7 separate regions of the Homo sapiens genome follow, and all the other regions are linked to region 1. Evidence: promoter capture Hi-C in human tissues and cell types (Jung and others, 2019). All regions are on one chromosome and are shown on one strand. Each heading gives the region's core, a stretch centred on a gene start or on the middle of the fragment in contact. The rest is flanking DNA. Distances are from core to core; before and after follow the strand shown.

Region 1 (4,174 bases), core at 483-2,982:
AGATGTTCATTGTAATCACTCATACCCAAATTCAACATGTAAAACTCCCAAGCCCGAAACCATCACCTCCTCCTCGTTAGTTTTCAGATAAGGTGTTATTTATTCTATAAAGGGTAACCTAAACCAGGAATTTCTAGGGAAACACGAAGGGGATGTTTACATCAAACTGTCTACAAGGCAGGACGAGGCAGTCTGATCACTTATCAGATTCCTTCTCTATGACATCAAGGAACATGGAGAAGTTTTCCTTCTACGCTGGTGAAGTCATGGTCCTCTTATCTATCTGATGATACCTAGGAAACACTAGCCTCCAACCGCAGCCCCTACTGCAAAAAGGCAGTCAGTGCCCATTGCCGGGGTCTTCCCAAGCGGAGCACCTCAAAAGCCGCACCGCGCAGTAGAGGTCTCCAGGGGCCCCCACTCGCCCCCAGTGACTACGGAGCGGCCTCTACCTCCCGCCGGCGCCTGGCCACTTCTCCTCCCCCGCAGTCTCCGCTTGATTTCCATGTGACTGCAGGCAAGAATAGCCCAGCCTTTGTGCCTCTGCAAAGAACGCAAACAAAAATGTACACCATCACCACCCAACAAACGCGCAACTCCGCAAGACACAAAGCGTCTCCCAAACATCGCTTCCCTGGTAACATCCGGCATCCTGGGGCTGCCAAATCGCAGACAAAGACGCCCATCAGCGCGGGGGGTGAGGAGACTAAGGGAGAGACAAGACCAACGTGCTCCCACCAACGGGAGCGGCGGTTAAAAGGGCGCCGGTGCCAGGGGTGAGGGACGGGGCACCGGTACCAATTAGCGGCTCGCCTCGGGGTCCCCGCGGCTAAGGCGAGAACGCAGGACCAGGAGCATTGCTGCCCACTCTCTACCGCAACCCGCACATCCCGGGACCACGTAACGGCGGATGGGGCGTCCGGGAGCGGCCCCTGCAGGGGAGAGCAACAGGCTCCCGCGCCCTGGAGGCCTGGTCTGCGCTCCGGGCCCCCAGGCTAACACCCCACCCCCAGCCCCCCGACACCAAGACTGTGCCCCTCTGGGTCAAGGAAAAGGAAAAACTTTTAAACCTCTTAGTCAGCGAGAGCAAAAGAAAGGGGTGGCGGGGGTGCTGAAAGGTCTAGGATTATCCACCGCGGGGCTGGGGGGAGTGGAGACTTGCGAGTAGCAAAGGAAACTTCTAGACCCCATCCTTTTAAAAAAGCCACAGCAGCGGCTTCCGCGAAGCGCCGGGCCGCGCGGGGTGGGGCAAGCGCACCGCCCCACCGCCCCACGGCCCGCCGCCACCCCTACCCCCACCCCCACCCCCACCCCCATCCCCGCCCCCACCCCCACCCCCAAGCGCCGAGCCCAGGGCGCCCGCGCACCTTCCCCGCCGGCGCGCGCGCAGGGCGCGGGGGCGCGCCTCGGCCTCTGGGCCGGGGCTCAAGCGCCGCTTACCCGGCTCGCGGCGCCCGCCCAGGGCCGCGACGCGAGGGGGCGGAGGACTGGGGAGCAGGGGTCGCCGGGGCCTCTGGATGCCTCGCCTCGCCCACGCTCACTGTCTTCTCTTCTGAAGTAACGACCCGGCGAGGAGCTTCGGATCAAAACGCACAGACACTCACGCGTGACTGAGAAACTTAATCCCGCGGTGGCCCGACGCCAGCCTAGCGCTCCGCCGCGCCCCCTCCCCCAGCGCGCGCCGCACTTGCGCCGACCGGGGCTGCCGCGGAGGCGGTGGCGGGGCCCAGGCTGCTGGGGCTGCCGTGACGCCTGCGACCGGCGGGGCGGCGGGCGCGCCTTGGCCAATCAGGGGACGCGGCCGAGCAGGCCTGTGCGGGGTTTTAAACTCGCTCCTGGGCCGCTCGACCTGGGGTGTGGGTAGTGGACTTGTGAGGTGGTCAGATAAAATATAGGCTGCTCTGTTAAATGGGAATTTCAAATAAAAAAAAAAAGGAATAATTTTAGTACAAGTATATCCCATGCAATATTTGGGACGTACTTATGCTAAAAAGTTCTTCGTTGTTTATCGGAAATTCAAATTTAATGGCAGTCTTGTATTTTTATCTGCCGATTTTGTCAACCTGCGGAAACTGATAGCCTGTTTCTAGCTCCTCAGATTTTCCTTATGTGCACTGCCCTGTGGATGCTTTCTGCATGGGTAGCTTACTGAATGGCATAGGATGCTTATGAGAAGCGCTTTAATCAGAAGGGTGGGGGCAGTCCTCTCACTTTCTAAGTAACTTTTCGCACATCAGGGTGCATTCTTAGTCTGATGATCCAATTAAAAAGCAAAAACAGTAAACATGGAAAAGTTATTAGAGTTGCATGGCCCCAGGAAGAACAGATATTCATTTCTATTTTGTGCCACTTAAGATTTTCTTTCTGTTATCCTCAATTTGGAAGTCCCACGAATTTTTTTCTGCATAAGAAACTCTTTTTCAAAATATCCCTCTGATATTAGATTATAGGACCAAAGGATACTCAGAAGTCCAATTTAGAACATTTAAAAGAATTTCTTTTAATATTCTGAATAAAAATACTTTTTTCTCATATTCCTTGGACTTTCAAACACATTCACAGCTGTTGACCTCTCTCTTCCTAGAGTCCTCCCCACCCCACCCCTCTTGTAATTCCATGCAATCACACTCTTGGTTTTGCTTCTTCCGCTTAGTCAAGGGCGGATGTATGGGCTCTGAAGCTTGTACAATTGGGAGCTCTGCTTTAACCAAAAAAAAAAAAAAAATCTTTCTTTAGAAAAATTCAAAAAATAAATGCCCATGTAAACACATTGCTAGGGTTGCTCCCAGGCAAGAGAAGGACCCGGAACGTTAAGCTACATCAATTTCCAGGTAGATCTGCCCCTGTCCCCAGGCCACTCTTCAGTCTTCTTTGCCTCCTCTCCCCCAATCTTTAGATGCTGGAATTCCTTAAAAATCAGTTACGGGCCCTCTTTTCCTTTTAACTCTTACCTCTAAATACATTTTCACTTCTAGCTTATGATCTCGTACCTACAGAATCTTACATTTATACCTTCAGATTTATCCATATATTCAAGTGTTTATTTGGCTTCCCTGTTTGCTTGTCTCAAACCTAGATTGCAAAAAAAAATGCAGCCGTGATACTTCTGCTCAAGCCTGGTCATCTTGTTCAGTGTCCCAGTGAATGGAACTGCCATAGATGCTACATGATTCCCACAAACTACGATAAACCCATTGTGATGCATTCTTATGGTACCCTATGCTTTTGCTTCATAATATTTTTCCTACTTTGTAAATATGCATTTGATTTTGTAATTATGCAATGTCTCTTCCCTCTTCAACCATAAACTCCATGAGAACAGGGGCTAAGTCACCATTTTATCCTCAGAGCCTAGTAAAAACTTCACACTTGGTTGGCACTCATATGAAATAGGATGAATATACGACTGCAAGAATGAATAATTTCTCCATATAACTTTTGTGTTCTTGTCATAGAGTCACCTCAAGGCATCCCATTTGGAAAGGATTTTCTTATTGCTTAGAAATTCCAAAGGGATCCTCCTGTTTGAATAGCACTTCTACTTGTCAGTTTTCAAATCTGGTCATTCTCAAATACAAAGGAAGTACGTGCATGAAATGTTAGCTGCTGGGGTAGTGTAGGAGGAAAAGAATTTCATAACTAGCTACTGAAGGAATTCTTTGAGTCCTAAAATTTTAAATGGCATTTTTTATATTGAACCATAGGGAAAGAGCCCATAAAACTGAATTAGAGGAAAGTTTTAGAAATTTAATTCCCTGGTTTATTGTGGATAAATGAGATTAAAACAAATAATTTTACCTTGGTTTAAAAGGTGCTATTGTTCTAGTCTCCTTTAGCGAAGCAAAGCCCACATGCCCTCTTTAAACAGCAGTATATCAGAGGATAAAAAGGCATCTGGTTTAGATTAGTCCTTGCATAAAATTATCCAGAGTTTGGGGATAATTCCACCCTGAAGCTTCTCCTTTTGAAGTTAATCCGTATAGCTATTGCTCTATTCTCTTTAACTTGTTCTAATCCAGAAAACCTAAGATTTTCTAGAAATCCACCGGGGATATAGTGCACTAGTTTAAAAAAAAATACCTAAAATAAAAGTTAAAAACATTAAAGTTGAAATAAAATCTTGCAGAGAAAGACAAAGTGTAAAGCAGATAGAGTAGAGGTGCTCTACTCTATG
Region 2 (4,174 bases), core at 578-3,077, 1.4 Mb after region 1:
GCCTGCAAATCATTGTATATTACATCACCTTTACCTCTCATAACTCCAAGCACCTAGCTTTATATGCCTTTCAAAATATGTAAGAGTCAAACATCTTAGTTTTAATTTAATTAGCAATAGAATTCAAAAGAAGAATTTCAAAAGAAATTTGATTGCCTGATTCTTAGGGGTAATTTTCTAATTGCACATGGCCAACAGAGTAGTCATTATTATTTGATAATTGACTTGCCATTGCTACATATCCTTGCCTTTTCAGGCAGAATACTTAACTGCCTTGAACAGTCAATTGCCCTATTCTATTGCTTGCTTAATTGGGTAGCATTACTCGACTATAAAATTTTACTCTACCCTGCATGTTTTTGGTTCAATATCTTCATGTTTAAGGACCTAATGCAAGTTCTCAATTTTAATTTAACATTTGGAATGTAGATATTGCCAGAGGAAGTAGACAGTAGGATGTCCCTTTGTCTTAATAGCATGGAATTGATCATAATAACTACAAATCAGCCAACACAACATGAATCAGGAGAAAGGTACTTCTAAGGGGAGGAGATATGATCTCACATCAAGATTGATTTTTTAAAAAGCTCATATGAGAAAATAAGTGAAAGAAAATCACTTTTTTGCTATCATAATACTAGAAATGATATGACAACTTTTGCCTGAGAACCTCAACGTACTTTGAGGTTGTGGGATAGCTTTAGCAAGCTATTAAAGAAGTCCCTCATAAACCTATAAAGTAATTAAGTATGGACTATGGGGATTAAGACCATCGTAAATGGATATGAGAGTATTTGGGAAGGAGTCCAATGCACCCCACTTTATCAACAAATGGAGTTGACCTGCTCATCCACATATTAATAGAGTGCAGAAAGATAGCTACAGAGGAGTTCTGGTGATTACTCTAAATTCTCAGTTTCCTAACTGAGGGTACAGTCTGACTTATATCTCTGAGTAGATCACCTCCAATGCAAAAATAAATAAATAAAACAGAGCTCTGTGTCTTCAGTGTGAATGAATGATTACTGATATTGACAGTATCATCATATCATTCTTGCAGCATTTCCACAATGCCAAGAAAAAATGGAAAGGCCAGAAGGAAACTTAATCTTTGCCAAATCCTATGATGAATGCCCAAGGACCAAATCTGTAGTTAAGCTAGAGTCAGGCTCCTGACAGCCTTTTCCCCTACTCTCCATCCATCCCAGCTGTCCACTACCACCTGCAAACTCTTACCTGCTCTCCCCCCAGAACACATACCTGGCTGAAGGGCACTGTCCTGCAGGTCTCCCAATGTACTTCATGGCTTTTGATGGGCAAGATGACCCCCTGAGAAGCCGGAGTTTTTCTGAACATGAAGTGGTGCCAGAATTTCTTGGCTTCTTCCCGAAGAGGAGATTTCTCCATTTTCATTCCATCTATCGGCTGGATGAGGGACTGGGTCCCAGGTGGGAAGGGCTCACTATCTGAGTCCCTGGATGGATGCATTTCTCTCTCAGGCTTCTTCCAGAACCTGCCAAATCTGGACAGCATCTTCTCTCTCTGCCTCTGGCCTTCCCCTGCAGGGCTGGTGGCTACAAGGTGTGGCACTGCGACAAACAGATCTGGCTTCTCCTCAGCTTCCTCATGGTTGCCTGTGGGAAGCTCTCTTTGATTCCTTGGCAGGAGTACGGGGGAAAGAGAACTCTGATTCTGGCGGCCATCCTGGTGCCGTGTGGTCTTTCCTAGAGGCAGGAGTACCAGCAGCTGAAATAAGAGGAGATGCATGCTGTCAGGGGCCCAAGCTTCTTTTGTAAATGATGAGGCCCAAAGGAGAGGCTCATTCTCTGCAGGACTGGGAAAAAGGAAATCGTATATATAGATACCTGCCTGGCGGGATGGGAAGGCAGGTGGTCAGTAGCCAGGCAGAATAAACACATTTATTGTTTGCTTGAATTATGTAGTGCTAATGGCCTCCTGCCGTCACTTTGGTTTTGTGTATTTTAAAAGGCCCCAGTGAAAGCCTGGGACCCAGGGGGTAATTAGCTAAGAGTTTAGCTATGTCTGGGGCTTAAAGAGCAGTATTAGCAAAGACAACACATTCTTTGCCTAAATTTCCCATGGCTGTTTTCAGAAGAAGGACTAGAGTCAGCTCACATTTGCTGTGCATCTGCCTTGTGCTGGAATAGAATAGACAAGACATGTTGCTGTAAGAGAAGTTTTTGGATAAAAATTAAAGGCATACATTTAGAAAAAGCCCAGGCCTTTAGGAAGGCTATTCACACACACACACACACACACACACACACACACACACACACACACACGAAGAAGTATATCAAAGTTGTAAGGAGAAGAAAGGAAGAGCTAGAAGGATGTTAATTTTTTTGAGCAAGGGACATATTGTTTCTTACTTACATGCAAATTGGGGTTATTGATTTTTGCACAGTAACTGAGTAAAGGGAATATGTTTTCCTTTCCACACGTAGAAACTCACAATTCCCAAGTTAATCCTCTCACATTAAGAATCAATTAATGGGTGCTAAATTTCACAACTGGTCAGTCATCAGATAAACTCTTCCAATTGTTCACATGTTCCTCAACAGGATACCACGTAATAGACTGACAGCTCATCAGTCTTCAATGAGGATAGGGAAATGTCTCCCTCCAGCCATCCTATTGATTTTTTTTTCCCTTTGAACAAAGAGCCAGACATGAGAACGTGGATTCTAAGAACCAGGTTTGATAACTTTGTGTGTGACGCTGGCTAGTCAGTTTCTTACCTTATTGAATCCACATCATCTCCCCTTGTTTTACACTAATTGATGGCCAGGCTAAATAAAGATTGACACAAATAAGAGTCTTCGGGGATCAAAGGAAAAATTGAAAAATAACTATCATTCAAAACTATCATGAATCAGCCTAGGATACGAAAAAGAAACACGTCCAGAAAACTGAAACCCCAGAATAGAGTCCGATCAGCCTACCACATGATTCAAACAGTATTTCCACTGGGAAGCAATGCAATATCTGCTTTTATTTCTCCCCTTTTAATTCAATCACTATATTCCTTGCTTTCAATAACACAAATAGTCCTGGAACATGTTCCCCCTTTTTTGTCAATACTGATTAAACTTTCTTTCCAAGAAGTGACCCACTGGAGTCTGTTTTCCAGGCATTTCTGTTCTTCTTGATAGCCATGCCTGATTTCTATGAAATAAAGCCTTAAGTAAGTCCCTTTACCCATGATAATGAGCTATTTTTAACATGGACCATCACTTTACCAGAATGCCATGAGTGGAGATATATTGTACTTGTACCAAATATCTATGGAACGTGTGCTAGTATTAATGAAAGGTGCTGTTGATATATAATAAATAAGCATGTGTATTTGCCATTGTTTTTTTTTATTTTAGGAAAAGGGTTCTGCTCTGTTGCCCAGTCTGGAGTGCAGTGGTGCAATCATAGCACTCTGTAACCTCAAACTCCTAGGCTCAAGCAAGCCTCCTGAGTAGCTGGGACTACAGGCACACTACCACACCTGGCTATTTAAAATTTTGTGTTGTTGTTGAAACAGAGCCTCACTCTGTTGCCCAAGCTGCTCTGAAACTCTTAGCCTTGAGCCACCATCTTGCCTCTGCCTCCCAAAGTGCTGGGATTACAGGCGTGAGCCACCATGCTATGTCAACATCTTTTTTTTTTTAATTGACTGCTACTTGAATTTCTTAATTCCCCTCAGCCATCCAATGCTATACGCTTTCCAGAGCTAGTCACTAGGCCTCCTGGTATAATATGGTGTGGAAGCCAGCTGTGATACCTTTCCTGAATCCTTTTAACTGTTACTTTTCAGTAACTGAAATTCCATTGTTATCAATCAGAGTATCTACTATTTCCCAAAACTAAAGACAATCTCAGAAATTCTATCTCGGGTCTCAGTTTGCTTGGCTCTGGAATTACTGAACATGAGATACAGTTGAGATAATTCCTGTTGAACTGCAATGTGTAGAAGACTCACTTTGTGTGTTAAGAATCATATTAGATACTGGTAGATAATTGAAAAATGAGTAAAACTTTGTCCCTGCCCTCAAGTAGGTTAGATAGTCTAGTGGGATTTCTTATGCATCATCTAACTTTATTGTATAAAATCATCTATAGGGATGTCAGTTATCCATTTTTCACTTTCCTTTAGTCCTAA
Region 3 (4,174 bases), core at 792-3,291, 1.3 Mb after region 1:
CACACATCTGAAACCCAGCAGAGCAGACATTAAACCTTAAAGCTCCAAAATAACCTCCCATGACTCCATGTCCCACATCCAGGCCACACTGGGGCAAAGGGTGGGCTCCCAAGGCCTTGGGCAGCTCCGCCTCTGTGGCTTTGCAGGGTACAGCCCCCACGGCTGCTTTCATTGGTTGAAGTTGAGTGTCTGCCGGTTTTCCAGACTCAGGGTGCACGCTGCTTGTGGCTCTACCATCCTGGGGTCTGAAGGGCACAGCAGTGTCCTGATGGGGACTCTGTGTGGGGAATAGGCAGTGTCCCAGTGGGGATTCTGTGTGGGGGCTCCAACCCCACATTTCCCCTCATGCCCTAACAGAAGTTCTCTGAAGGGGATCTGCCCCTGCCGCAGGCTTCTGTCTGGGCATCCAGGCTTTCTGATACTTCCTCTGAAATCTAGGCGGAAGCTGCCAAGTCTCCCTTAGTCTTGTATTCTGCATACCAAGTAGAAACCTCCAAGGCTTATAGTGGCTTGCGCTCTTCAAAGTGGCAGCCTGAGCTGTACCTTGGGCCCTTTGAGCTGAGGCTGGAAATGCAGCAGACTGGATGCAGCAGTAGCCTCCTGAGGCAGCAGAGAGCAGTAGTAGCACTCTGGGCCTGGCTCCCCAAACTGAGGGGCTGCCTCAGAGACTTCTGAAATGCCTTCATGGCCTTTTCCCCATTGTTTTGGTTATTAGCACCTGGCTTCCTCTTAGTCATGCTAATCTCTTCAGCAAGCGGTTGTTCCACAGCCTGCTTGGATTCTTTCTCTATCACATGGCCAGGTTGTGAAGTTTCCAAATGTTTACGCTCTGCTTCCCTTTTAACTATGAGTTCCAACATTAAGTCCTTTGCTCCCAAATCTGAATGTAAGTCGTTAGAAGCAGCCACCCCACCTCCTGAATGCATTTCTGCTTGGAAATTTCTTCCAACAGACACTCTAAATCATCACTCCTAAGTTCAACCTTCCACAAATCCCTCAGGCATGGACACAATGCGCCAGGTTCTTTGCTAAGGAATAACAAGGGTGACCTTTGCTTCAGTTCCCAATGACTTCCTCATTTCCATCTGAGACCTTGGTAGCCTGGTCTTCACCATTCATGTTTCTAAAAGCATTTTAGAATGCTTCACAACCACTTAACCAGGCTCTGAGAGGCTCCAAACTTTCCCTTGTCTTCCTGTCTCCTGAGCCCTCCAAACTCTTCCAACCTCTGCCTGTAACCCAGCTCCAAAGCTGTTTCCACATTTTCAGGTATCTTTGTAGCAATGCCCCACTCCTTGGCACCAATTTTCTGAGTCAGTTTTGAGTTGCTAAAAGGAATACCTGAGACTGGGTAATTTATAAAGAAAAGTGGTTTATTTGGCTCATGATTCTGCAGGCTGTATAAGTATGGCACCAGCATCCGCTCAGCTTCTGATGAACCCTCAGGAAGCTTTTACTCATGGTGGAAAGTGAAGAGGGTGCAGGTATGTCACACAGCGAGAGAGGGAACAAGAAAGAGAGATGGAGCAAGACAGAAAGAGGGAGAAATATAGACAAGAGGACGAGGTGCCAGGCCCCTTTAGAGAACCAGCTCTCACATCAACTACCGGAGCAAGAACTCACTCATTGCCATGGGAGGACACCAAGTCATTCACGAGGGATCTGTCCCCATAACCCAAACACCTCCCACTAGGCCCGCCTTCAACACTGGCGGATGTATTTCAACATGAGATTTGGAGGGGACACACATCCAAACTTTATCACCGTTGTATGAATTTAACCAACCTATATGTCTTTCTGGTAAACATATAGGTGGATTGTTGATTGGAAATTACAAATAATGCCTTATCAATTAGCTTTCACCGTGTAATAAACAACCTCACAATTTCTCGACTTACAAGAACAACATTTCTTTTTTTTTTTTTAGTTCATTATTCTGTGAAGCAACTAGGGGTCCTCTCTCCATGTGGTTTCTCATCCATAGTGGTCCAGCCTGGACTTCTTCACCAGTGGTCTCAGAGGCTTGGACAGCAAGCTCCAATGTGCAAGTGCTTGTTAAGCCTTAGCTTCTAATATACTTAGTAATGTCTTTTTGCCCAACCCAAGTCATCTGTCCAACCCAGAGTCAAAGGCTGAAGAATAGACTCCATTGCTTGGTGAGAATCTGCAACGTCACATTACAAGAAATATAACATAAAAGCATGAAGGAATTTTTGACATTTGGCAATCTTCCACAAATGCTATGCTAAATATCCTTTCAACTACTACTGTGCACACTTACCTGATTATTCATATGAGATAAACTTCTGGAAGATAAATTGTTCAGTAAAAAGTGTGACTATTTTAAGCTATGGATTTCTACTACCACAATTGGAATTTATACTCTCATCAACTAGTCTTTGAGTGATAAGAACTCAGTGCCTGGCATAATGTATAGTTTATTACACTATAAATATTGGTTAAATGAATCAATGAATGAATGAATGAAAACCGCATACAGAAATCAAAAAAATGAGAACAAATCGGTAGCCTGACTAATACTGATATTACCATGCTTTAAATATTTGCTCATTAACAGCTAAAAATAGAACCTTATTTTAATTCCTACTTTTTGCATTACTAATAGTGGTTATGTTCAATGGCTATGTGGTATTCTACTTTACTGAATTTGAATTGAGCAAATATCATTTGGTCTGTTTCTGGGTTCTCTGTATTTTGTTTCAGTCATTTTGTCTATTGGGCCTTAAAACTATCATATCTAACTTATTCTTTTCATGACTACAATACTCCAATGCATGGAAGTATCCTAATTTACTTAACTGATGTCTTTTTTATGGATAGATATATATTCCTAGTCCTTTGATATTAAAAGAAAGCTGAAATGATCATCCTTTATATGGCCTTTACATAGATGTCTTTGCTGTCAAGTGAAGGTATATCTTTAGGATAAGATATACCTGGTATGATAATTACTGGAAAAATAGTATGTTCATTTAAAATATTGATATTTGTTGCATAAATGCCTTCCAAAGAAGTTGTAGCAATTCTCACTTTTTTTTTTTTAATCAGTGGGTAAACGTGCATGCTTCCCTAAACTCTTACTAAAGCAACATATCCAAGCTTATCTGATGTGGAAAATGGCAAATCACTTTTTCAAATTTGTATTCCCATTTGAATTATAATAAACATCTTTTTATTAAGCTTATAAGCTACATTTCTTTCTTTCTCTTGGCAAACTGATTCAAATTTTTTGTTCTTTTTTTTATTGGGTTGTTGTTTTTTTTCCTTAATTTTAATAGCTCCTTATATCTTAAGGACATTAGTTTTAACATTTTCTGTTTATGTTATCCATGGTACTTCTCTGCAGAAGTGTTTCATTTTGATACAGTCCTATTTATTTACTATTTCTTTATTGTTTCTGGCCCTTGAGTCTTTATTCTAAAGGCCTTGCCACTCCACTCTCATAAAAAATTATCGCTCATATTTTTATTTGGTACTTTTATTTAGTTACTTACTAACTTACTTTAAGTTTACATTCTTGAGCTCTCAGGAACTTATTTTGGCATGAGGAGCAAAGTCTTAAGTTTCTTTTTTCCAGAGGGCTAGCCAATGCCCTCATATAATTTTTTAAAAAATTACATCAATTCTCCAGTGATTTGGAATACACTTTTATCATATAGCAAATTCACATATGCATTTGGCTCTATTTTTGAATTGTATTTTGTTCCATTCATCTGTCTGTCTACTCTAGCAACAGTACCAACCATTTAAAATTAGTTTTGAGAATACATTTTAATACTAGAGGTACCAATCCTCTTTAATTACTCTTCTTTCTTTTTTAAAATACTTTTTTGGGTATTCTCACATATGTATCTTTGATACACACTTTGGAATCAATTTATCTACTTTTGCAAAGAGTACATTAAATTTATAGATTTTGAGACAACAGTTTTACACTTTGAGTTTTCATATTTAGAACTACGCATGTCTCTCCAATTATTCAAATTTATTTTATGTCTTATGTAAAGTTTTAAGCTTTCCTTCACTCAAATTTTATAAGTTCTTGTTAATTTTATTTCTAAGTATTTTATTTTAAAAGTTATATGTAAGATTCACGATTCCATTACATTTTCTGAATAACGTGTACTTACAAGAATGCTCTATCATTTAAAAA
Region 4 (4,174 bases), core at 859-3,358, 1.2 Mb after region 1:
CTCTGCATGTAGAAAGAGGGGTGGCAACAGGACGCCCGAGGAAGAGGGACATGGGGTGGAGAGAGGGATTGCTGAGTACTGGAGAGCCTGGGAACGCCCCCAATGACCACATTTTCTCTTACCATCACATTAAGATTCTGAGGTTTTAAGAAAGAAAAGTGTCGGCCGGAAGGAGCCCAGTTAGCATTCTGGATTTATGGCCAACAGGGTTCTAACCAATCCCTGTGGAGCTACTTTTTGTTAAGAAGTTTCAGGCTCGGCGTTGTGGCTCGTGCCTAAAATCCCAGCACTTTGGGAGGCCGAGACAAGAGGATCATTTGAGGCCAGGAGTTTGAGAACAGCTTGGGCAACAAAGTGAAATCCCCTCTCTACAAAAAATAAAAAGATAGCCAGGCATGGTAGCACAGGCCTGTAGTCCCAGATACTTGGGAGGCTGAGGTGGGAGGATCCCTTGAGCCCAGGAGGTCAAGGCTATAGTGAGCAGAGCTCACACCACTGCACTCCAGCCTGGGTGACAGAACGAGGCACAGGCTACTTGAAGGTCTGGGGCTGATAGCCTTGGACAAATGATTTAATCTTTCTGTGTTTAAATTTCCTTCCTAAAAAGGGGATAATAATAATACCTGCGTTATAGGGCTATTGTGAGGATTGAATAAACATACAATGTGCTTAGAAGAGTGTCTGGTACTTAGTAAGTGCTTAATAAATATTAGCTATACTTTGGCCACCCCAGATGTGGGAGTGAGCTTCCCTGAGCCTCAGGCCAGAAAGAGGGGGTGCCAGGAGAGCTGGCACATGCTGAGCCCCAGAAGTGGCCTGAGGTTGAGGGACTGGGCTCTGTTTATGAGAAGTGGTCAGGGCCAAGGGGTGAGTTGGACACCAGATGGGCCAGAGTGCCTCAGGGTCCGGACAGGTGGTTCCAATTCCAGAGATAGGGACATGATAGGGGCATGTGAGGAAAACAAGTAGAGAGGCAAAAACACGGTGTAAGGGTTGAAAACACCCCCGAGGCGGAAGCCGTTTGCCCCAGTTTTGGGTTGGCACATTGCCTTTTCTGCCCTATATGAACCAATATCTCAGTCAATTTCGTCAGGAGCTAAGTAGGCAGGGCAGGAGAAGAACTTTGGGGTGGGAATTGGAAGGAGAGGGGGTGGCTGAGCCACATGGGAGCTGGAAGTCCTTCCTCAAAGCCCTCCTCTGTAGAACGATCCAGGCATTTGGCTCACCAGGTGGACCTACTTTTTGTCTAGATTTGTTCTTATAGTGGTGACAATGAGCTTGCTCTGAAAATGGCTGAGCCCTCACATGCATGAGGCACCTGGTGTGAGCTGGGGTGGGGCTGGGGCAGTCTACCGCCACAGAGCTCTGCAAGGGGCCAGCTGTGTCTTCCTCATCTTGTCTCCCACATGCTTCACCTTAGCACCTAGGACAGAGCACACGCTGACTAGATTGAAATATTGAATTGGCCTGGGTGTGATCCAGAATCCCTGAAGTGCGGTCTAATTTTAGAGCTGCAGAAGGAGCTGATACCAATCGAAGGGCTCTTTAATTGGCCTATTTTTTTTATGGTTAGGTGTTTTGTTATTGGTGATTTTAATTTTGCCTCTTCTGAAGTACATTTCACAAATATACTTGTTGAATTACACAGGGTCTATGTCCAATTTCAACCTTCTCAATGAATGTCAAAAATCACTAGAGCCACAATCTCTCCTGATTAAAGCGGGGCTATGAAATAAACAAGCACATCACTGATCAGAAAGAGACTGCTGTCCAACTGATCAGACCTTGATAATCTTGTGATTCAAAAATACATGAAAATACTATTTGCATCCCCTGATAACAATGCCTCAGTCACTTGAGAGTGAGAGAGAAACCAGGGAACTGGATAATGCAATGAAATGAATAGAGAATTAACACTACATTACGTGTTCATGTTTCATTCTGCTTTGTTCATGATGAAGTTTATAATCTGGGAACATTCATTTATCCCCCTTTGCCTCATTGACTTTAAAAAGAATAATAAACCTGCTCTTTTTCTACTACACAAAGGTATTAAGAGAAAAATGTGAAATATGCAGAACAGTTTGAAAGGTGTTGTGTAGAACATACAACTGCAATTTTTCTTACTATTATCATCATTATGACAGCCATTCCTGATATGGAAGATAGATATTAGGTTTATAAGATGAAGCCAGATTTTTACCCTAGGTAGCCCTAGAACTATAAAGATATCTTGGATAAAAAAACCTGGACCCTTGACAGCTTTCCCTTAATTATCATCAATTCTTTGAGTGGGTTCAAAAAAAAAAAAAAAAAAGGAGAGAGAAAACAAAAAAAAAAATCGGACGGAAAACCAGCCTAATTGAATGTAGGATAAACTATTCATTAGCAAGCTAAATAGCTACGACATTTAATAACCTGTAGTGCCTCATGGAAAACCAAGACATTGCCAAAAGTAATTGAAGTTTGTGATTCTCCAAACTGTTATTTAAAGCAGGATTTGGCAAGGCTCAGTGGGTCTGCGCCGATTTTAATTGCATTTTTAAAATTCAGGATGGAGATTTCGTTTCTTTTCTCATTATTTGTGTAGTGAAGTCCCTTTATGGTGAACGTGCTTATAGTGAAACCTTATGCGGTGATTTTTAAAGTTCAAAGCATGTGGGATCCATCTATATCAAAACCCATACTTTATGTTCTGACCTTTTAACTGATTAATTCCCAGTTGCATATAGCCCAGAATTCTTTCTTTTTCTTCTTCCTCTTTTTTTTTTTCCTGCCTGTCATCTAACAAGGCAGTCTCAACCCTTATTACTATGACAAGCAGCTTCCTGGGGGGTCAAGATGGGCTTGACCTCAGGAGAGGGCCTCCTCCAGTGGTGAGTGAATGGGCCGTGGAAGAGAATCACCAAGTGGCCATGTCTGCCTATGGAATAAGCAGTAGTTGCTATCCATCCCTAGCCATAGACACCCAGAGACCATTAAATATATACAATGCATTTATTACAGACCCTTTGTACAGTACACTTACGAGAGGCAACTATGATTGTATTACCCTCAAGGGCTTATTACAAGGGCTTCTCTGCTCCCTTGTAATTTCCCATGAATGATTGTTTTAAAATAGCTACCATTTGTTGAGCACATAGTAATACGGCAGGCACTGTGCTAAACACTTCACAGGAATTAGGTCATTTCATCCTCAGGAGAACCTTCGGTATGATTTTCTTCATCATACCAAGGTGCAGAGTTGGTGAAGGAGCTTGCTCAGGATCACACAGGCAGAGCTGCCAGGGCTGGGACTGGAGCCTAGGAGGCTAACTCTGGGTCCACCTCGCTTAATCACCACCCTCTCCTAATCACCACCCTCTCCTACAATGCTGGTTAGTGTGCTGGGCCCCATGTGTGAAATTTTCTGATATTCTCCCCACTAAAATTTCTGTCTCCTGTGTCTTATCACACAGGAACATGCATCTCTGATTGCTTTAGTTTCCCACCTTGTAAAAGAGGTTACCTAATAATATCTTCCACAAGGGGTCGTTGAGAGGATCAAATGAGCAAGAGCAAAAAATGCATTTGACAAAATGTCCAGTAAAACACGGCCATGTATTAGTCCGCTAGGGCCGCCATAACAAAGCACTACCACTGGGTGGCTTCAACAGCAGAGACCGATCGCCTCACAGTTCTAGAGGCTACAAGGAGCTAGCAGGGCTGGTTCCTTCTGAGGGCTGGGAGGGAAAATCTGTCCCAGGCCTCTCCCCAAGCTGCAGGTTTGCTGGTAATCTTTGGCGGTCCCTGGCTTGGCATCACTCTAATCTCTGTCTTCATCTTTGCGTGTGTGTGTCTGTCTCCGTGTCAGACTTTGCCTTTTGATAGGACACTAGTTCTATAAAACTTGATTATCTCTGTAAAGACTCTCTGAATAAGGTCACATTCTGAGGATCTGGGGGTTCAAGTCCAACATACCTTTTTGAGGGGACACGGCTTAACCCATAAACCATGAGCTGCTATTTTTATTAGTAACAACGGTATCACTAATGTGTATAACTAGAACATGTTTTTCTATCAGGTATAGTGTTTGCAGTCTGCGGAAGGCTATTATGCACAAGGCTTTGACCCAGGGCCACACTTGCGACATGGCCAATCCCAAGTGTGGTGGCAGGCAAATCTTTCACAGATC
Region 5 (4,174 bases), core at 442-2,941, 1.1 Mb after region 1:
TTTCAGACCCAGAGCCATCCAAACTGGGCAAAAAAATAGAGGTTTGTTGCACTAAAGTGGGACTGGGGAGCTCTCGGTGCTTTGAAAGGTTTTAATTGCTATGGAAAAAATCCTTTCAAAGATTTTTTTCCCTCAACATGGGCCCCTTGGAAACTTTTCATAGGGGAACTGTAAAATATTTATACAGCTAGCAGCACTGTTAAAAAAAAAAAAAAAAGCAAGAAAGAAAGAAGCATAGCACTGAATGAAAAGCAGACTTGAAGTGAGCCTTGCAGATTCAGGGGACCAGGGAGGGGAGGTTGCTGTGATTCCAACCCCTGGAAACAGGATTAATCCCTACCAACCATGCCCACAGACAGGGCCCACTTCACCGGCATGTGACCTGGCACTTAGAAGCGTCCTGCGTCTAGTTGAATGCTCTGCTGTAGCCATTTTGAAATTTTTGATTTTTGAACAAGAGACCCCGTGTTTTAATTTTGCAACGAGCCCTGTTACGTTACGTAGCCTTGCATGTTACGTAGCTGGCCCAGCTCACAGAACTTCCCCAGGACCGCTGTCTTCAGACATTTCAGTATGGTCCTCCCACCCCTTCCTCCCTGTTGGCTTTTCTTTTGCTTTCTTTTTCTGGAGGTATCCACAACACCGACCCTTTGACAGTCCTCAGTGGCATCTGCTCCACTTCCCATCGGTATGTCTGGCTGGCATACACACTGCCCACGCAGCTTTGTCACCCCAGGACATATGAGGCGAACAATCCATATTCAAAACCCTAGAAAACATGAACCTGAGCTTGTGAATAGACCAAAAAGTATAGAATTTTGTAGTTTAAAGGAACTACAACATTCTTGTTTTGTAGAGTAAATTAGTCCTGGAGAGAGGAAGGAAATTTCCCAAGGCTACTTCATTTATTAATATCAGGTTGGGGACAGGACCTGATATACATGCTGCTAGCTCACTCTGCAGGCTCTATAAAAAGGGTTAAGATGAACAAGTATAGTCCCCAAACTGTCCCCAAACTCATGTGAACTCTGGCTTCAGTCTTTTCTCAACACTTCAATCAACAATGACGTTATTAAAGAGCCGGGCGTGCTGGCACACGCCTGCAATCCCAGCACTTTGGGAGGCCGAGAAGGGCAGATCACTTGAGGTCAGGAGTTTGAGACCAGCCTGGCCAATATGGCGAAACCTCATCTCTACTAAAAATACAAAAATTAGTGGGCTTGGTGGTGTGCGCTTGCAATCCCAGCTTCTTGGGAGGCTGAGAGGGGAGGATCACTTGAACCCGGGAGGTGGAGGTTCCGGTGAACTAAGATCACACCACTGTACTCCAGCCTGGGCAACAGAGCGAGACTCCGTCTCAAAAAAAAAAAAAAAAAAAAAAAAAGATGCTATCAAAGAAAGGCTGGAAAGATAATCATTTTCTCCACACCAACCCCCCAAATATTTTCATTCCTCCCACTCCTTATCTTTTACTGATGAAGATATTTGGTAGCAAAAACAACAGATGTAAATTGCATGACCTCTTCATGGCTCTAGCCTACCACTGATGCTGTCAACCTGGTAACCCTGTAGAAAGGAAGAGAAGAATCCAAGGGCCCAGAAAACCCGCAAAGTGGATAATTAACACCAGAGAAATCAAGATTTGGCCACTTCATCATAGCTAAAATACTAAGGGGCAGGATGAGACACAGTCCCGAAACTTCCTACCAGGGGAAATGGGTTGCAGAATTACTACTATCTCGTCAATCAGGAGGGAACCTCTTGTCTCAAGGCTGACTTAATTGCCATAATTCAATTAACATGCTTCCACTAATTATATAAGCTTTTAGATGACAGTTCAACAGTAGCACCACTGAGAGTAAGCCATTTTTTTTTTCGTTTTTAAACTTAGTCTTAGTTAATTATAAGTAAATTGCATTGGTTTCTTTTTCACATCCTGCCTTCAACTATTTTGTTACAAAATAATATCACATAATTTAAGAGCTCTGGATCTTTGGCAAAAAAAAAAAAAATAAGGCATGTATACCATGTGCAAAACTGTAGCATTCATAAAGAGACAAGCCCCTTCTTTTCTTTCTTCCTTCCTGTTTTTCTTCCTTCATTTCTTTCTAGATGCCAATTCTTATGAAATATTAAATGAGATAAATAACAATCATATTAATTGAAATGAACATCTATTTTATAAATTCTCAGATCTAGAACAATGTCTGGCTCAATACAGATTTGTTAAATAATTATAAATGTTAATTATTGGATGAGATACTTTGGGGCATGGTAGAGAAAGTCTGAGGAGGGCTAAAAGCCCTAAGATCTAATTTAACAGAGTGTATATGTTCTTTCATAAGATAAGATGTAAAAGCAGGAACACAACAAATCAGTCAAAAACTACCTGGAATTTGAAGATACTGAAGAGGAATGCAGAGTATACATCATGAAAATGGTAAATCAGATTAACTCTTCCATTGAGAAAGATAAGAAGATGGGTTTTCAATGTCAGTTATCTTATCTACATACAAATGAAAGTTGACAAATGTAAATTACTTGCTACAAACCAATGGACAGAGGATCCATCACAGTTGGATACATTTCGACAAAGCAAAGGATGCCACACTAGAATTGGCCCAGTGCTAATTTGCATAACAGCAAAGATTCATTTTGATACACCTTTATAGAGTTCATTTTCAATGAAAGTGCATATTCTTTGTACCAAAGCATACCCAATTCTTCTATATTTTCATGATTTATGATTGAGCAGAAATCTACAGGTATGTCAGAAATTTTAATAGATATTCAGGACTCCAAAGATAATTCATGAGAGCAGAATTAGAATTGCTACTTTTTTTTTCCTTGAGGGCTATTTTTTTCACTTTTCTACCTAGCACTTCATTTTACTCAGACCAAAAGTTTCTCTTATGTATTTTGATGAGGCCACAGGAAGTATGAAGAGTACAGAAAAAGTAATTATATTCCCACTAATATAATCATATAAACAGGCTAGTGTTAGCTCAGTTAGTGAGAAAAAGACATTTTAAAGTGGAAGCAGCCACCATGCTATGTAGGGTTAACATGACAAAGGAGACTCCGACCCAGGAAGATGAGAATAACAACTCCCCATCTTCAGGTCTCAGACTGTCAGATCCTTATGGAAACTTTCCTGCCTTTTCCCCAGATGTTAGGCCTCTGGTTATTGGCCACTTTTACTTGTAGAACACTGATCAGTTGAAATTCATTAATTATTAGCAGTCCATGAATGCTTGTTCTTCCAAAAGGCCTGAATGTCCCTGGAGTCCATGTTTGCTCACCATAATGTTTCTGGCCTGGTGCTTCTCTGCCTGCTCTAAGTATTCTTATGGAGTCAGGAAAAGAAAGTAAGGCTCCTTTCTCATTCTGCCAAAGCCCCCGTATTAGCTGGAACTCTTTCAATTGCACGTGATAAGCATCTAGCTTAAATTACTTTAAGAAGGCAATAAGGCTTAAAGGCCAACACACTTATAAAACCCAACCTTGAAAAGGCCAGTCTTGAGACAATATCCTTTCACTTTCCACTCAAGACACTCCAAGGAAGGATTCAGATTGGCTCAGCATAGGTCATGGGTCCACATCTTGGACTAATCTCTTTGGCTAGAAGAATATGGTACAAAATCCACCCAACCAGAATCCAGTGACCACTTCTGCGACTGAGGAAGGTGCAGAGTGCTGTGTTCCCAGCCCTGCCAGCCATAGATAGCCCTGTGTTGTGGGAGAAGTTGAAAGTAGCAAGAAGGGAAGGGTCAGGAGGATGCTGGGCATGTAAAACAAAGATGCACATGGAGGCCCCCAGCCTCCATCTAGAGGAAGATGAAATGTTTCTACAGTTCTGGATTTTCAATAACAACAGCCTTGATATGGGCAGCTTTTATTTTATTTCATTTTTTAAGAGCTATATGGATTCATAACAGTTCAAATGATCATTTCTATCTCTATTAGACCCTTTTGTAAAAAAAAGTATGCCCACATGCCAGTAGCAATATTTAACAATTTAATTCAGAGTGCTACCATTAGTTACTTTTGATTGACTTAGAAAATAATACATACATCATGTTTTATTTTGAGGAAAAGTCTGAGAGTAGTAATCAGATCGGGGCAAAACGTACTCATCTACTTCATTCTTAAGGATGGTTTATTGCTCCTATCC
Region 6 (4,174 bases), core at 738-3,237, 1.1 Mb after region 1:
GTTTCTCTGTTTCCCAGGCTGGAGTGCAGTGGTGCAATCTCAGCTCACTGAAACCTCCATTTCCCGGGTTCAAGTGATTCTCCTGTCTCAGCCTTTTGAGTAGTTAGGATTACAGGCATGTTCCACGGCACCCAGCTAATTTTTGTATGTTCAGTAGAGACAGGGTTTCGCCATGTTTTCCAGGCTGGTCTCAAACTCCTGACCTCAGGTGATCTACCCACCTTGGCCTCCCAAAGTGCTGGAATTACAGACATGAGCCACCACACTCGGTGACACGGTGGAATTTTGATAAATGTGCTGAATCATTAGATGAAATCTAGTCATTCATTAATAATTTCATTAGGTTTTTGAGTATATATTACATACACTTGTCCAAAATTTAAATGTAGCATAATATATGTAGCAAACATCTCCCTCCTACTCCTGACTCATAAGGATACCTTGCTCTCCAGAGCTTGAAAGCCTAAGTTCCCAAATATCTTAGTACCCACAACTTAGGAGCATATGCTTGGATGAGTTAGTTTCTTAAATTCTGAACCCAAAAGAACAGAGTCCATCAAGAAACTCTGCCCCTAGCAAAAGTCCAACTTCGAAGGTCCTGTCTCCTGCCTTAGGACTCCAGGTCCTCAGGTGAGTGACACACCCTTCTGAAGAGCACTATCTTACGCTACAGGACCCAAGAATTGATCATAATACCAAGCACCACAATAATTCCCACATTATTTAAGAGATGCTCATAAAGGGGGGAGAAATATTTTTATCATGCATTCTCACAGAGGAACTCATGAGAGCCTCTTAGGGGACAAAATCAATCAGTGTTATTATTTCTGCTTTAAGCCAGTGGAATCTCTTTACTATATGCCAGTGTTTAAAGTTCAGTATGATGAATGTTAGTGCTTCTATTTTTATATATTTATTAGATTGTATAGACAAAGTACCAGCCCAGGGGAAGACAGCCTTGGAGACTGGAGGGGAATATTTTTAAATGTAGAAATTCTCAAAGTCCATTCCATAGAATATCAGCTCCTTGGTGTGTTATTAGGTGCTCCATAGCAAAGGAGGGTTCCACAGACAAATATGTTTAGAAAATGCTCATTAAAGGAAAGTCGGTTGCATTTTTAATTGCAAGACTTAACAGAACTTTTAATATCACACTGTAAACTCTGAAATTTTAAGAGGAGAAAAAATGTAAAATGAAACTGACCACAGAATGCTTTTCAAGGACTAGGGTTCCACACAGCAAACTTTGGGAAATGGTGTGAGATTCTGACAGCTTTGGCACTAAAAAGGTGTATGACTTGGGGTTAGGTGACTAACTGTTCATCACTGTGTGTCAGTTTAATCAGGTAATTAAGTAACCAACATCAACAAATTATTTTTTATACTGGCTTTTGCCAGTAACTATTAGAAGCAGATATAGAAGACCTGTGAAATCTTGGGTTCAGACGAGTGTTCTTTTCAATCTTGCTGTACTGCTTTAGAGTAGCAAGCACGGTGACATCATTTGGTACTAAAATATTATTACTATGCAACCATGAGCCTCACATTTCTCCACTTGAAACATAACTAAAAATTAAAAGCTTTTGAGAAAAGTGATTCTAAAATAAAGTTAAATGTAAGCCAGGTATTGGAGTAAAATATTTGCAATGCATATAACCTACACAATATTAGCATCCAGAATACATACAGTCATTAAAAATCAGTGAGAAGAAGAAACAAACAACTCAATGGAAAAATGAGCAAAGGATAGAAATTGAGGATTCATAAGCTATAAACATATGCCAGTAAACATATGAAAAGACTTTCTAACTTATTAGGAAAATGCAAATTAAGACAAGATATCATTTCACATCTATCAGACCAGCAAAAAATTTTCCAGTCTGACAAGGTAGGCATGGGGATTGGTACAATAATTCTTAGAATATTTTAGCAATACTTACAGAGTTAATTAAGTGTGCTTACTCTACGACACAGGATGGCCACTTCTAGGTTATTTCTTGGGGCAGTATTTTCCAATTTCCCCATTATGACACACATAGAGAAAGATAATACTCATAGAGCACAGTGGGGTAAGCCGAGGAGGCTGCTCATAGCAGGAGGTGCCCATTTAGGGGGCTGTGGTCACCTCAGGTCCCACTTCTTCTACCCAACTGTGAGGCACTGCTATACAGAATTGTATATAAGCTCTGCCCTAGAGAAGCTTATTTCTGTGTGCTCAAGAAGATGTACAAAAATGTGTACCACAGTATTTTTATCATACCAAAAGCCAAGCAAAACAAAATGAGAAAAACAACTTAGATGCCCATCAGTAAGGGAATGCATAAAAGTATTATAGGATACTACAGTTAATATTAATAGCTTGAATTACAAGGATGAGTTGCAAAAGCATAATGTTCAGTAAGAAAAGAAAAATGCAGCCAGGTGTGGTGGTATGCACCTGTAGTCCCAGCTACATGGAGGAGGCTGGGGTGGGAGGATTAATTGAGCCTGGGAGGTTGAGGCTGCAGTCAGCTGTGATGACGCCACAGAATGAGACCTTTTCAAAAAGAGAAAGAAAGAAGGAAGGAAGGAAGGAAGGAAGGAAGGAAGGAAGGAAGGAAGGAAGGAAGGAAGGAAGGAGAGAGAAAGAGAGAGGGAGAAAAAAGAGAGAAAGAAAAAGAGAGAGAGAGAGAGAAAGAGAGAGAGAGAGAAAGTAAGGAGGGAAGGGAGGGAGAGAGGGAAGGGAAGGAGGGAAAAATGCAAAAGAATACATGTGCTATGATACTCAGTGTACAAAACCTTAAAACCATCAAAAGTCTATATACCTACATAGTAAACATATAAAAATTATGAATGGGGAGGATATGACCAACTTCTAGATAGCAATTGCCTCTGGAAACGGAGGAGAGGCAGTGGGATTTGATAGTGGATGAGGAAGTCTAAGGATATCTGTGACATTGTATTTCTTAAAAAATAAAAATAAAACAAATGTGGCAATAAGTTTATGTGTTCAATCTAGGTAGTAAATACATAGTTTTAAAATACATTTTCACTATTTGTGTATATGACATGTCTTGTAATTAAAAAACAGGAATAACTAGATCAATGGTTTCAAGCCTGGATGTATATTAGAATTACAAGGAAGTTTTTAAAATTTTTCATGCTGGGGCTGTATCAGAGACCAATTAAATCAGAAACTTAAGGGTTGGGGCCTGGACATTGCATTGTTTAAAAGCTTCTCCAGTGATCATAGTGTGTAGCTTTGGATCAAGAACTGCAATATTAGATGATCGCAAAGGTTTCTTTCAAACAACATTTTCTGTTTCTAAACATTTTAATTGCAGTTTCCTCATATGGCTTCATGTGAACACAATTGTGTGTAACATGAAGTTAGGCCCTGTTAATATTCACTGAGAACTTTCCTTCTGTCACAACCACTTATCTTTTCCTGGTGCTCATGATTCTTTTGTTTTCTAGAATCACATGTTTCTCCTCTCCCATTTAAGTTGTTGTTCATCCCTCCCCCTTTCTCCTCCCACCTTTCTGAGTCCATCCCAACAAGCAATTCATCCAAGCACCACAAATTTAAGCTCTGAGTCATTCATATGCATTGCTTTTGAACATATTAAATAGATCCATATGCTTATCTATACTAAGATATAGATTTTTCCTTCAGAAAATAGAATACAAAAAAATCATTCCAATGTGTACACTTTAAATATTTTAAGCAGGCATCTAAAACGAAGCAGAAATTAAAGTAACTTGGACCAGAATTTTGAACATTAAAACATTACAGCAAATTGGTAAAACATAAACCAAATATATAGATGTCTACTTTATATCCAAAAAAGTTACTCTTTCCCTGCCATACACACAGACAACTCTCATAATGGGTCCTCCTCAATTAGAGTTGGATCACAAGCAGAACAGTAATCAGTGTGGCCTTTCCCAGCATTTCCACCCCCAAAGACTCTTTATTATCCTTCCCAACTTCAGAAATTTCTATGACATCATCATCAACCAATCAGAGCTTCTAATGGTTTGAAATAACTGATGTAGCCAGACACATTGAGTTGATATAGAATCAAAGAAATGTGACATTCTCCTTAGTCTGGGCAGTTGTGTCATGGATAAACATATGATTTCCATTAGATTTCTCAAAACACGGAAAAATCGCTTTCAGACCTTAGCACTA
Region 7 (4,174 bases), core at 1,179-3,678, 1.1 Mb after region 1:
GGGAGACAAACATGTTAACAAGGAAACATTATTAATTGTGACAGTTTCCATAGTGAACTCAGAGTCTTGTGTGGGTACAAAGACTAAATATGGAAAGGCTAGGAAAGGCTTTTCAGATGAGATGTCTCTTGAGCTGTGTGTTTCAAGATGAGTAGGGGTTCATCAGGTGATCCTGGGGAAGACATGCCAAGCAGAGGGACTAGTAAGTGCAGAGGGATCAGAGGTGTGAAACAGAAGGGCACATCTGAGATCTAAGAAGTTGTGAATTGGGAATGAGGGTCAAAAGGTTGTAAGCAACCTGTGTTCCTCCATGAATATGGGTGTGTATTTTCGTTGATAGGGAAATGCTGAGGGGGTTTAAGCCTTAGAGCAATTGATACATGAGAGGGCAAAGACTTGGAAGCAACCCAAATGCCCATCAATGATAGACTGGATAAAGAAAATGTGGCACATATACACCATGGAATACTATGCAGCCATAAAAAAGAATGAGTTCATGTCCTTTGCAGGGACATGGATGAAGCTGGAAACCATCATTCTCAGCAGACTAACACAGGAACAGAAAACCAAACACCGCACGTTCTCACTCATAAGAGGGAGTTGAACAATGGGAACACATGGACACACGGAGGGGAACATCACACACCGGGGCCTGTCAGGGGGTGAGGGGCTAAGGGAGGGATAGCATTAGGAGAAATACCTAATGTAGATGACAGGTTGATGGGTGCAGCAAACCTCCATGGCACGTGTATACCTATGTAACAAACCTGCACGTTCTGCACATGTATCCCAGGTACCAAACATGGCACATGTACACTTATGTACACCTATGTACACCATGGCACATGTACCAAACTTGGGACATGTATACCTATGTACAAAACCTGCACGTTCTGCACATGTATCTTACGTGTAAAGTAAGTAAAGTAAGATTAAAAAAAAAAAAAAGAGAGACAGAGGGAAACAAGTGGCTGGATGCTGTCCTGAGAGAAATGAAGAGAGCTTGAACTAGGCCAATGTTGAGGGAATGAAGAGGAAGATTTAAGATGACAGCCAAGAAGCAGACATAAAGAGGTAGTAATATGGTAAAGATTTCCACCCCAGAATGACTTTAAGTAGTTTGTATTTCATTATTTATGAGTAAAAATTACTCCTGAAATGCTTTTAAAAGTTGTTTACTTACTAATAAATATTTTTCTGCACTTACTTCCAAAAATGATGTGAGGTAGGAAAAGAACTCTGTAGCTACGGACAGGGCCACCGTGTTTCACCAGGCAGACTGGTTACGGTGCAACTGCACACACAACTCCTTGGAGTGGTACAGAGTGGCAGCCTTGGCCATCTTGAACTGATAAGCATTTCTCGACCATTATCTTTGGTTCAGTCATCTGAATAACATTTAAAGAGATTTATACCAGTGCTATCTTGACTAACTTCAGTTTTGATTATCTTCATGTTAATATGCCATATTATCTCAATTTAACTGGCATCTTCTTTGGATGATGTCTTCTACTCCATTCCCTCATATTTTGGTGCTTTCAGAGAGAGAAGGTGCTTATGTCTGCATAGCTCATTTAGTTTGACAAAGGAAAGGAGATGTAGTATAGCATTTTGGGAGTCAGATGACCCTTATTGTTCCCGTGAACTTGTGCAAGGTACCTGAGCTCAGTTTTCCCAACTATATAGGGACAATATCAATGCCTACCTCACAGGTTTGGTGTAAAAATTAAATGAACCAAGAATAGAAAGTGATTGGCACATATAGTAAGTGACAGGTTTTTGGTACTGTGTATCATGCACTGTGCCTGATACATAATATCTCATTGCAATCTAGTAGTTTTACAGAAAAGGAAATTTAAGCTCTTTGAGGGTAGGGTTTATTTATCATTATATTCCCAGACCCCAGAATAATGTCTGCCTCAAAGCAGCTAAGCGAGGTTAAACAGTAACTCGTCCAAGGTCAAACAGCTAGCTAGTAGTATGACGATCAGCGTTCAGACTTGTGTCTGCATCATTTCAAGCACAGTGATTTCCCAATCTTATTGTATTAAAGAAGATGATGTGGAAGCTGGTCGAAGGGCTGTTCTGTGCCTTCTTTTACTACCAGTTTTCAAATTATCTAATTATCATCGGGTTAGGCTTCTCAGGATAATTAGTTTCCATCTGTATCATTAAAAGTCATTTGCAGAGTATTTCCACAGGGGTCCATCTCATAGCCAACAGTTCTTCCTTCTGGAGCCATGGTTCCATGTTGTTGATGCCTTCTGGGTAGATCTACCTACCAGAGTCTTCAGAAGGTGCTTCAGCTTTAACATCTCCAAGCCAGAACTCCTCAATCAGCCCCACCTCTCCCTTCCCCACACACACCCTCCCAAAGCTCTGCTTTCCCTCATGTCTTGATAGATGGCATTTCCATATATCTGGCACTCAAGTTAGAGATTTTGGACCCAACTTCTACTCCTTCTTTTCTCCTAATTAGTCACCACGTTTTATTGTTTCTACCTCAAAAAAGGTTTTCAAATCTAGCTTTTCCTTTTCATCACAGCTTCTACTCCTTAATTCAGTACTTCACCATCTTTGGCCTGATATATTTGGACAGCTTCCTAATTGACCTTCTTACTTTCAGTCCCTTCCATCACCAGCCCACTGTAGGTAAAATTAGACTCTCATAACCTAGAGCAGATCAGACATTCTCCATCTCTGAAAACTTTGGGGGCTATCTCTTTACCCCCAGGGTAAGACAAGGTTATGTCCTACTGTGTATGACTATACTTAAAACCAATCCCAGGCAGCTTTTCCTGTCACTCACCTTGTATGTTCTTGGCTTTAGCTATTTTGAACCATTCGCCATCTCCAAACACCCAGTACATTTTACGACTTTGTGCCTCCCTTCAAGCAGCTTTCTCTGCCTAGAATAACCTTCACCTCCTTACTGGCTCATTCCTGAAAGCCTAGCTCAATATCACATCCTGGGTGAAGCTTTTCCACTCTTACCCCCATCGGACTCAAGGACAATTAATGGCTCCCTCTTCGCATTTATCATAGCACTTCCAATATTTTTATCAAAGTTAGTTATTTGTATATTAATGGTCTATGGAGCCATAAGGTCAAGGACTACTTAATTCATTGATGTAACCCCAACCCCAACACAAGGGTAGTTAACTGTTTTTTTTAGTCAAGAAAAAATTGTACATTGGCTTTTTAAAAATTAAAGGAATAAGAGTGTAAATGATAAGAGGAAGCCAAATCACGTAGAAGGTGGGATAATAACAGATGTTTGAGAATGCTGGTCTAGCCCACAGTGTAAATATGTGTTAAATTTGTGAACATATCTACTTTATAAACACTTGACTTCACTGTAGGCACAACCTGGTTCCATAACAAAGGTAAGAAATAACCATGTAAAGAACAGATTCATCTCAGGATCACACGACACTGGAACTCCATAAAAATCAGATCCCTCCTAATAGTGAGGTTCCTTCAGACTTGGAGACTTTCTTACCCTGTTATGGGTCACCTTTGCCATAGGGCTTTTTTGACCCCTGCTCTTCTGGAAATGCTATCAATTTCTTTGTTTAAATGCTAATGTCCAGGCTGGGCACAGTGGCTCATGCCTGTAATTCCAGCAGTTTGGGAGGCCGAGGCGGGTGGATCACTTGAGGTCGGGAGTTCAAGACCAGCCTGGCCAACGTGGCGAAACCCCATCTCTACAAAAAATACAAAAATTAGCCGGGCATGATGGTGGGCACCTGTAATCCCAGCTATTCAGGAGGCTGAGGCAGGAGAATCACTTGAACCCAGGAAGCAGAGGTTGCAGTGAGCTGAGATTGTGCCACTGCACTCCAGCCTGGGTGATAGAGCGAGACCCTGTCTCAAAAAAACCAAACCAAAACAAAACAAACAAACAAACAAACAAACAAAAACACACACACACCAACTATATGTCCAACCTGCCAGAGGACCAACCTTTTCTTATAGCTATGCAAGGCCTCAGTCATCTCTGGAACTTTTCATATCTTTTCCATCATTATATGTTAGCTTTGGACATGAGGTTTTACTTTTATGTTGTAGGAGAAAACACTAGTATAAAGAACTGTAATACTAAAAATAATCTAAGTTCCTTCTTCTTAGGGTAGGCAGTCTAGAAATCCTTGTTGAAGCGTTTTCAGTGGTA

The links. The method cuts DNA at HindIII sites, captures the fragments that hold promoters and counts their contacts. A contact is called where the count stands out against the background at its distance.
Region 2: a contact is called between the fragment with the promoter of CER1 here and the fragment with the promoter of MPDZ in region 1, in 1 of the 25 tissues and cell types used here (H1 embryonic stem cells).
Region 3: a fragment that was not itself captured here is called in contact with the fragment with the promoter of MPDZ in region 1 in 1 of the 25 tissues and cell types used here (mesenchymal stem cells).
Region 4: a contact is called between a fragment that was not itself captured here and the fragment with the promoter of MPDZ in region 1, in 3 of the 25 tissues and cell types used here (H1 embryonic stem cells, adrenal gland and mesenchymal stem cells).
Region 5: a contact is called between a fragment that was not itself captured here and the fragment with the promoter of MPDZ in region 1, in 2 of the 25 tissues and cell types used here (dorsolateral prefrontal cortex and heart left ventricle).
Region 6: a contact is called between a fragment that was not itself captured here and the fragment with the promoter of MPDZ in region 1, in 3 of the 25 tissues and cell types used here (H1 embryonic stem cells, dorsolateral prefrontal cortex and hippocampus).
Region 7: a contact is called between a fragment that was not itself captured here and the fragment with the promoter of MPDZ in region 1, in 1 of the 25 tissues and cell types used here (dorsolateral prefrontal cortex).

The regions. Positions count from the first base shown.
Region 1 is chr9:13,277,960-13,282,133 of GRCh38, forward strand. It overlaps MPDZ (multiple PDZ domain crumbs cell polarity complex component), which reads right to left and starts at 1,733. Exons shown (of 47, transcript NM_001378778.1): 1 at 1,441-1,733. RefSeq lists enhancers at 1-640, 641-1,356. The HindIII fragment of the contact is 5,465 bases long and covers 1-3,317 here.
Region 2 is chr9:14,720,906-14,725,079 of GRCh38, forward strand. It overlaps CER1 (cerberus 1, DAN family BMP antagonist), which reads right to left and starts at 1,828. Exons shown (of 2, transcript NM_005454.3): 1 at 1,261-1,828. The coding sequence starts at 1,767. RefSeq lists enhancers at 976-1,915, 1,916-2,853. The HindIII fragment of the contact is 6,126 bases long and covers 687-4,174 here.
Region 3 is chr9:14,546,754-14,550,927 of GRCh38, forward strand. No RefSeq gene overlaps it. Among named protein-coding and RNA genes, the nearest start is that of TRH-GTG1-6, 110 kb to the left of the region's middle. RefSeq lists an enhancer at 287-889. The HindIII fragment of the contact is 3,154 bases long and covers 465-3,618 here.
Region 4 is chr9:14,438,836-14,443,009 of GRCh38, forward strand. It overlaps a transcript of NFIB not described here. Among named protein-coding and RNA genes, the nearest start is that of TRH-GTG1-6, 6.9 kb to the left of the region's middle. The HindIII fragment of the contact is 4,948 bases long and covers 1-4,174 here.
Region 5 is chr9:14,419,087-14,423,260 of GRCh38, forward strand. It overlaps a transcript of NFIB not described here. Among named protein-coding and RNA genes, the nearest start is that of TRH-GTG1-6, 13 kb to the right of the region's middle. The HindIII fragment of the contact is 4,997 bases long and covers 1-4,174 here.
Region 6 is chr9:14,385,811-14,389,984 of GRCh38, forward strand. It overlaps a transcript of NFIB not described here. Among named protein-coding and RNA genes, the nearest start is that of TRH-GTG1-6, 46 kb to the right of the region's middle. The HindIII fragment of the contact is 5,319 bases long and covers 1-4,174 here.
Region 7 is chr9:14,367,221-14,371,394 of GRCh38, forward strand. It overlaps a transcript of NFIB not described here. Among named protein-coding and RNA genes, the nearest start is that of NFIB-AS1, 52 kb to the left of the region's middle. The HindIII fragment of the contact is 3,365 bases long and covers 747-4,111 here.